Linked DNA regions of Homo sapiens: region 2 is linked to region 1. The links are contacts of gene promoters, found by promoter capture Hi-C in human tissues and cell types (Jung and others, 2019). All regions are on one chromosome and are shown on one strand. Each heading gives the region's core, a stretch centred on a gene start or on the middle of the fragment in contact. The rest is flanking DNA. Distances are from core to core; before and after follow the strand shown. Region 1 holds the start of ALDH1L2 (aldehyde dehydrogenase 1 family member L2). Region 2 overlaps SLC41A2 (solute carrier family 41 member 2).

Evidence for each region. The method cuts DNA at HindIII sites, captures the fragments that hold promoters and counts their contacts. A contact is called where the count stands out against the background at its distance.
Region 2: a contact is called between a fragment that was not itself captured here and the fragment with the promoter of ALDH1L2 in region 1, in 5 of the 25 tissues and cell types used here (heart left ventricle, lymphoblastoid cells, mesenchymal stem cells and 2 more).

Annotation. Positions count from the first base shown.
Region 1 is chr12:105,082,296-105,086,027 of GRCh38, reverse strand. ALDH1L2 (aldehyde dehydrogenase 1 family member L2) reads left to right here and starts at 1,570. Exons shown (of 23, transcript NM_001034173.4): 1 at 1,570-1,639. The coding sequence starts at 1,592. RefSeq lists a silencer at 1,263-1,692 and enhancers at 2,193-2,432, 1,927-2,727. The HindIII fragment of the contact is 4,053 bases long and covers 1-3,399 here.
Region 2 is chr12:104,872,841-104,876,572 of GRCh38, reverse strand. The region is part of intron 6 of SLC41A2 (solute carrier family 41 member 2); the gene reads left to right. Among named protein-coding and RNA genes, the nearest start is that of SLC41A2, 84 kb to the left of the region's middle. The HindIII fragment of the contact is 5,392 bases long and covers 1-3,732 here.

The DNA.
Region 1 (3,732 bases), core at 321-2,820:
CTCTCTTAAACACATTCATCCGTTTCAACAAGTTTTTTTTTAACAAGTTATTTTTTATTTTATTATTATTTTTTTAAAGCTCTGGTTAGTGCTAGATACTGTAAATCCTGATTAATCAGACATGGACTTAGCTTGCAAGGAGCTTCCAACAGAGACGTTAATAGGTATACAAATACCAGTAGCAGATTGAGACAGCCATAACAGATGCATAGACAAAGATTATTTCCTGTTAAGAGGAGTGAACAATTATTTATGGGGAATAAGGAGACTAAGAGAGAAAAGAATCAGAAAAAAGCGCCTCCAGGAGGCAGCATGTAAGCGGTACCTTTCAGAAAAGAAACGGTCGTGCCAAGATAATTACAAGTGACAGATGACAAGCTTTTCTGGGAAACATTGTCCAAGAAGGAATAGGCAAGAACTGCAGTCAAGCAGAATTACATATGCAAAAGAGCAGTGAGAAATAAGAGAAAATGGCAAATTGCAGACGGCCCTGAATGCTGGGCTAAGAAGTCTGGCTTGAGATAAACGTCCAGCTAAAGCAGGTCTGAGCGTTTTTTCCAGAGAGGTGAGGGAGAAGGGCACGTATCTATTAGGTTGATGCAAAAGTAATTGCGGGTTTGCCATTATTTTCAGTGGCAAAAACCACAATTACTTTTGCACCAATTTATTTATTTATTTTTAAGACAGAGTCTCGCTCTGTTGTCCAGGCTGAAGTGCAGTGGCATGATCTCAGCTCCACTGCAACCTCCGCCTCCCCGGCTCAAGTGATCCTCGTGCTTCAGCCTCCCGAGTAGCTGGGACTGCAGGCATGCGACATCACGCCCGGCTAATTATTTTATTATTTTATTATTTTTTATTTTTAGTAGAGACGGGGTTTCACCATGGTGGCCAGGCTGGTCTCGAACTCCTGAGCTCAGGCCATCTTCCCTCCTCGGCCTCCCAAAGTGCTGGGATTACAGGCGGGAGCCACCGCGCCCGGCCTACCGTCCTACGAGGTAGGCATCAGGATCCCTCCACAGCGAAGGCGCCCCCACTACCTATCTGTCTACAGGCGTGCCTTTTACGGGCTGTGCTATGGACAGCACTTGGGATGTCAGATTGACCACTAATAAGGTAGATCCGTATACACTGCTGCGGGGCTGAGTAACTGGTAGAGGGTCCCACAGTTAGAAAGCACCTGGACCTTGGCTGGAATTGGCGGAAAGTCCAGGCAGCGGAGAGGCGCGGTCCCTGGGACTGGGTGCGCTCTTGGCACCAGGGTCAGGGCCCACAGGCTCCAGGAAGCCCACGCGCTCCGCCGGGTCGCACCAGGTTGGCTGTCCGAACGCAGCCAGCTGGCGGGGCGGGGCCTTCCAGCTGGGGGCGGGGTCTTGACAGCTAGGGGGCGGGGCCTTGCAGCTGGTAGGGTGGGGCGGGCCGCGGGCTGTGGGCTTTGGGAGGGGTGCGGACTAGCAGAGGCCGAGAGCGGCGAGCCGCGAGCCAGGCAGTCCGGGGCATCCAGACTGCAGGCCGCGCCCAGGCCGCGCCCAGGCTGCGCCGCCCGCCTGCCTCCCGCGCTGCCGCGTCGCCAGTGCTAGCGCTCCTCTCCAGCATGCTGCGGCGGGGCAGCCAGGCGCTCCGGCGCTTCTCCACTGGCCGGGTGAGTCCGGCCCGGGCGAGCGTCCCGGCTGTCACCCTGTCCTGGTTTCCAGACTCCGGGGCGGGAGGGCCGGGGCGGTGGGGCTGGGGATGAGCAGCGATGCTTAGACTTTGCTAAACACCAAGACAGCGTTTAAAACAAACAAACAAACAAACAAAAACAGAGAGACCTCAGAGGAGGGCTTGGGGAGGGTCCCGGATGGGAACTGGCACGCAGGCCATTGTCTTCTGCCGGGAGGGGGCTGAGGATGCAGTTTTTGGACGTGTCAAGTCTGGCTGGGATGGCAAGGTGGGAACAGTCACTTGGTAAGGAGGACAGAGTCTGCTTCCTTTCCTTTTTCACTTCAATCATGAGATCCCTGGTCAAGAGCTGGAGCCATATGGAACCGAGACTGTCTCCTGGAGGAGGGGAGTATCAAGTCAATAGGGTCCTCGTTGGCGGCCTGGGAGGTGTAAGCGCTCGAGACTGGCACGCAGGGCCGGTTCAGATAATGGCACTCAAAGCTGATGGCTGCAAGCTCAGTATTCCTGAGCTGAGCTGCAGATGGCAAAATTTCTAGAATTGCCAGGCGCTGCAGAGGCAGCCACGCTGGAACACTATTCTACTGTAGCACAAGAACCGAGCTCTGGCCCAGCCCCGCGCCTTGGAATTGCATCAGCTCCTCCAGAAATGGAACCGAGAGAGGACACGTTGCACTGCGGTGCTGCCTTCAGCACCCAGGGGGCCTCGGGACTGTTTAGGGAAGAGAGAGAGAGAAAAAAAAAAAATAAAAACTGTCTTATGTATCGTATCTTTTATAGGAAGTACATAAAAGAATTTGCTTATCGATTCTTTTTCTCGGCCATGCCAAAGCCATATGTACATATGTATATATTCAGATGTAAAAAACTTGGAGGCAGAGAGAAGTCTTGAGTAGCACCAAAAACTGGCCCAAACTTGCATCAAAGGAAAAGCTTTCTGTATCCCAGACAACCCCAAATAATAAGAATTCGTTTTACTCTTTGCAACCAGTTCTAGTTACTTTGAGGTATAGTCACCTTTTATAAAACGAGGGGTGGGGGTGGGGAAGACCTGCTCTGCTAGGACTTTGGCCTGCTCTCCTGGACCCCTCATTAGCTTCCCCCACCACGTGGCACATGGGATCCCAGATGGATAGCACAGAAAGCAACGGGCTGTGCCCAATGCCTGAGCCTGTTTTGTTGGCCTCCTCTGTCAACACCTTTCACTGACTTGTCTTTTTTGGTGACCAGAAGGAAGTCTTGCAGAATGAAAAGATTTTGATAGTGCGGTTTGCATAAGATTTCAGTAATAAAAGGTAAACATCTCAGGTGGCAAATGGCATAAACAAAACTATGGATGTGGGGAAGAACTGGCGTGATCAGGGTCTAACTGTACGCAGGGGTGCATATGGAAAAGCAGTGATACTCATGGCTGGGAAGAAGACAGTTTCCTCAGTGGTCGAAAGGAAGCTACTGAGTGGTGAATGAAAAATGTGGGATGTTTTATCCTGTAGAAAATGTTCTGGACTGTGTTTTATAAGAATTATTCAAAATCAAACAGATACATGGCTGGTGGAAATATAAAATGGTACAGCCACTTTGGAAAACTGTTTGGCAGTTTTATATGTAGTTAAACATAAACCTATCATATGACCCCGGAATCACACTCCTAGGTATTTACTCAAAAGAAATGAAACCTTATTTGCCCGCATAGAAACCTGTTTATTGATGTTTCTAGAGGTTTTATTCATAATTGCCAAAAACTGGAAATAAATTGTCCTCAGCTGGTGACAGGATAAACAAGCTGTGGTATATCCATCCATACAATGGAATTCTACTCAGTTGGGGGAAAAAGGAATGAACTACTGATGCATACAACATGGATGGAACTCAAATATGTATGCTAAGTGTAAGAATCAGACTCATAATGCTACATATTTTATGATTTCATTTATCTGACATTTTGGAAGAGTAAAACTATAGGGACAGAAAAAAGATCAGTGATGTCTGGAGCTGGAGATAGGAGGAAGGATTGATTATAAATAGGCATAAAGGAATTTGGGCGGTAATGGAACTGTTCTACATCTTGATTAT
Region 2 (3,732 bases), core at 605-3,104, 210 kb after region 1:
AAACTGGAAAATTCAAAAACATGTGGAAATTAAACATCATGCTCCTGAACAACCAAGAGGTCAAAGAAGAAATCCAAAAGGAAATTAAAAAAATATATTGAGACAAATGAAAATGGAAACACAACATACCAAAACCTAAGGGACACAGCAAAAGCAGTTCTAAGAGGGAAGTTTATAGCGATAAACACCTGCATTTAGAAAGAAGAAAGATCTCCAATAAACAAGCTAATGTTACACCTCAAGGAACTAGGAAAAAAAGAATAAAGTAAACCCAAAGTTAGCAGAAGGAAGGAGTTAATAAAGACCAGAGCAGAAATAAATCAAATAGAGAATAGAAAAATACATTAACAAAACTTAGTTGGCTCTTCTAACATATAAGAGTGACAAAGCCTTAGCTAGACTAAGAAAAAAAAAGAGAAGACTGAAATTAAAAAATCAGAAATAAAAGTGGAGACCTCAGAAATAAAAAAGATCACTAGAGACGATTGAACAATTTTAAGCCAACAAATTAGATAACCTAGAGGAAATGGATAAATTCTTAGAAACATATACCTGCCAGAATTGAATGAGGAACAAATAGAAAGCCTGAACAGACCAATAACAAATAGTTATTAAAGTAGTAATTAAAATCCTCCCAACAAAGAAAAGCCCAGAACCAAATGGCTTCATGGCTGAATTCTACCAAACATTCAAATAGTACCAATCCTTATCTTCCAAAAACATAGAACTAGAGGAAATACTTCCAAACTCATTTATTTTTATTTTTAGTTTTATTTTCAGAGATGGGGGTCTTGCTCTGTTACCCAAGCTGGAGTGCAGTGGCATGATTATAGCTCACTGCAGCCTTGAACTCCTTGGCTCAAGCAGTCCTCCCACCTCAGCCTCCCAAGTATCAGGAACTACAAGTGCATATAACCATGCCTGGCTAATTTTTAAATATTTTGTTGGAGACAGGGTCTCACTATGTTGTCTAGTCTGGTGTCAAACTCATAGTCTCAAACAGTCCTTCTGCCTCAGCCTCCTGAGTTACTGGGATTACAGGTGTGAGCCACTGCACCCAGCCCAGACTCATTTTATAAGGTCACCATCACCTGATACCAATTTTCCAGACAAAGACACCACAAGAAAACAAAACTAGTGAGGTGTGGTGGCACATACCAGTAGTTCCAGCTACTCTGGAGGCTGAGGTGAGAGGATCACTTGAGCCTGGGAGTTGGAGTCCTGCCTGGGCAACATAGTGAGACCCCATCTCTAAAACAAAAGCAAAGACAAAAATGACCTAAACAACAACGACAACAAAATAAATGAAAACTATAGGCTAATATTTCTGATGAACACAGCTGCAAAAATCTTCAATAAAATACTAGCAAACTGAATTCAACAATACATAAAGAATATTATACATCATGACCAAGTGGGATTCATCCCAGGGATGCAAGTATGGTTTAACATACACAGATCAATCAGTGTAATATAGCACACTGTGTTAAATAAAATATCTAGAAATAACTTTAACAAAGGAGGTGAAATATCTCTACAATAAAAATGATTAAACATTAATGAAATAAATTGAAGAAGACACAAATAAATGGAAAGGTATTCCATGTTTATGGATTGGAAGAATTAGTATCATCCATACTACCCAAAGCAATATACAGGTTCAGTGCAATTCCTATCAAAATTTCAATGGCATTCTTCACAGAAATAGAAAAAAGAATTCTAAAATTCATATGAAACCACAAAAGACCCTGAATAGCCAAAGCAATTTTAGGAAAAACAAAGTTGGAGGCATCACACTTCCTGATTTCAAATTATGTCACAAAGCTATAGTAATCAAAGCAGTATAGTACTGGCATGGGAACAGACAGTGGAACAGGATAGAGAGCCCAGAAGTAAACCCAAGTATATACAGTCAAATAATTTTTAACAAGGGCACCAAGAAGACACAATTGGGAAAGAATAGTCTCTTCAATAAATGGTGTTGGGAGAATGGATATCCACATGCAAAAGAATGAAACTAGACCTTTATCTTACACATACACAAAGATAGTTATCTTACACAACTAAAAATAGATTAAAGACCTAAACATAACGCCTGAAGCCATGTAACTCCTAGTAGAAAACATAGGAGAAAAGCTCCTTGACATTGACTTTGGCAATGATTTTTTGGATATCACATCAAAAAATCGGGCAGCATTTGGCTGGGCGTGATGGCTCACGCCTGTAATCGCAGGACTTTGGGAGGCCGAGGCGGGTGGATCACGAGGTCAGGAGATGGAGACCATCCTGGCTAACACGGTGAAAACCCATCTTTACTAAAAATACAAAAAAATTACCCGGGCAGGGTGGCAGGCGCCTGTAGTCCCAGCTACTCGGGAGGCTGAGGCAGGAGAATGGTGTGAACCCGGGAGGCAGAGCTTGCAGTGAGCCAAGATTGCGCCACTGCACTCTAGCCTGGGCAACTGAGCAAGACTCTGTCTCAAAAAAAAAAAAAAAAAACAAACTCAGGCAACAAAAGTAAAAATAAGTGAGACTACGCCAAATTTAAAAGTTTCTACACAGCAAAAGAAACAATCCACAAAGTGAAAAGGAAAAGGCATCCTATGGATTGGGAGAAGATATTTGTGAACCATATGTTTGATAAGGAGTCAATATCCAAAATATATAAGGAGCTCACATAACTCAATAAAAAACACATAACCCAATTTAAAACTGGGCAAAGGACCTGAGTAGACATTTCCCCCAAGAGCACATAAAAATGACGAACAAGTATATGAAAAGGTACTCAATGTCACTAATCATCAGAGAAAAGCAAACCAAAACTGAAATGAGATATCATTTCACATCTGTTATAATGGCTATTACCAATAAGATGAAAGATAACAAGTGTTGGCAAGGATGTGGAGAAAGGGGAATCCTTGTACACTCTTGGTAGAAATGTAAATTGGTGCAGTTTTATGGAAAACAGTATGGAGGTTCCTCAAAAAATTAAAAATAGAATGACTGCATGACTCAGCAATCTCCCTTTTGGGTATGTATCCAAAGGAAATGAAATCAGCCCTTCACAGAGATATTTGCACTCCCATGTCCATTGCAGCATTATTTACGGTTGTCTAGATATGGAAACAACCTAAATGTTCCTGATGGATGAGTAAATAATAAAATTGTAGTATATATACAATGTAATATTGTTCGGTCTTAAAAAAGGAGAATCCGCCATTTGCAACAACATGAATGAACCTGGAAGACATTATATGTCAAGTGAAATAAGCCAGACACAGAAGTAAAAATACTGCATGATCTCACTTTATATAGAGAATCTTTAAAAATATGTCAGATACATAGGAACGAAGAGTAGAATGGTAGTTACGGGGGATGGGGGTTAGGGGTGGAGGTGAGGCAGGAAATGGGGAGATGTAGATCAAAGACTACAAAGTTGCAGTTATGTAGGATGAAAAAAATCTAGAGATCCAATGAATGTACAACATGAGGACTATAGTTATAACTAGAAGTTTGCCAAGACAGTAGACTTTAGATGTAATTACCACAAAAAAGTGGAAAGAGGTTAAATATCTGAGATGATGGATGTTAAATCACTGGACTGTAGTAACCACTTAACTATATATCTAACCATGTAACTGTAATATGTCTATGAAAACACCAAGTTGTACACCTTAAGTATGTATCAAAAAAAGAAAAAAGTCTTATTCAACTACTTAGAATTCTGAGTAT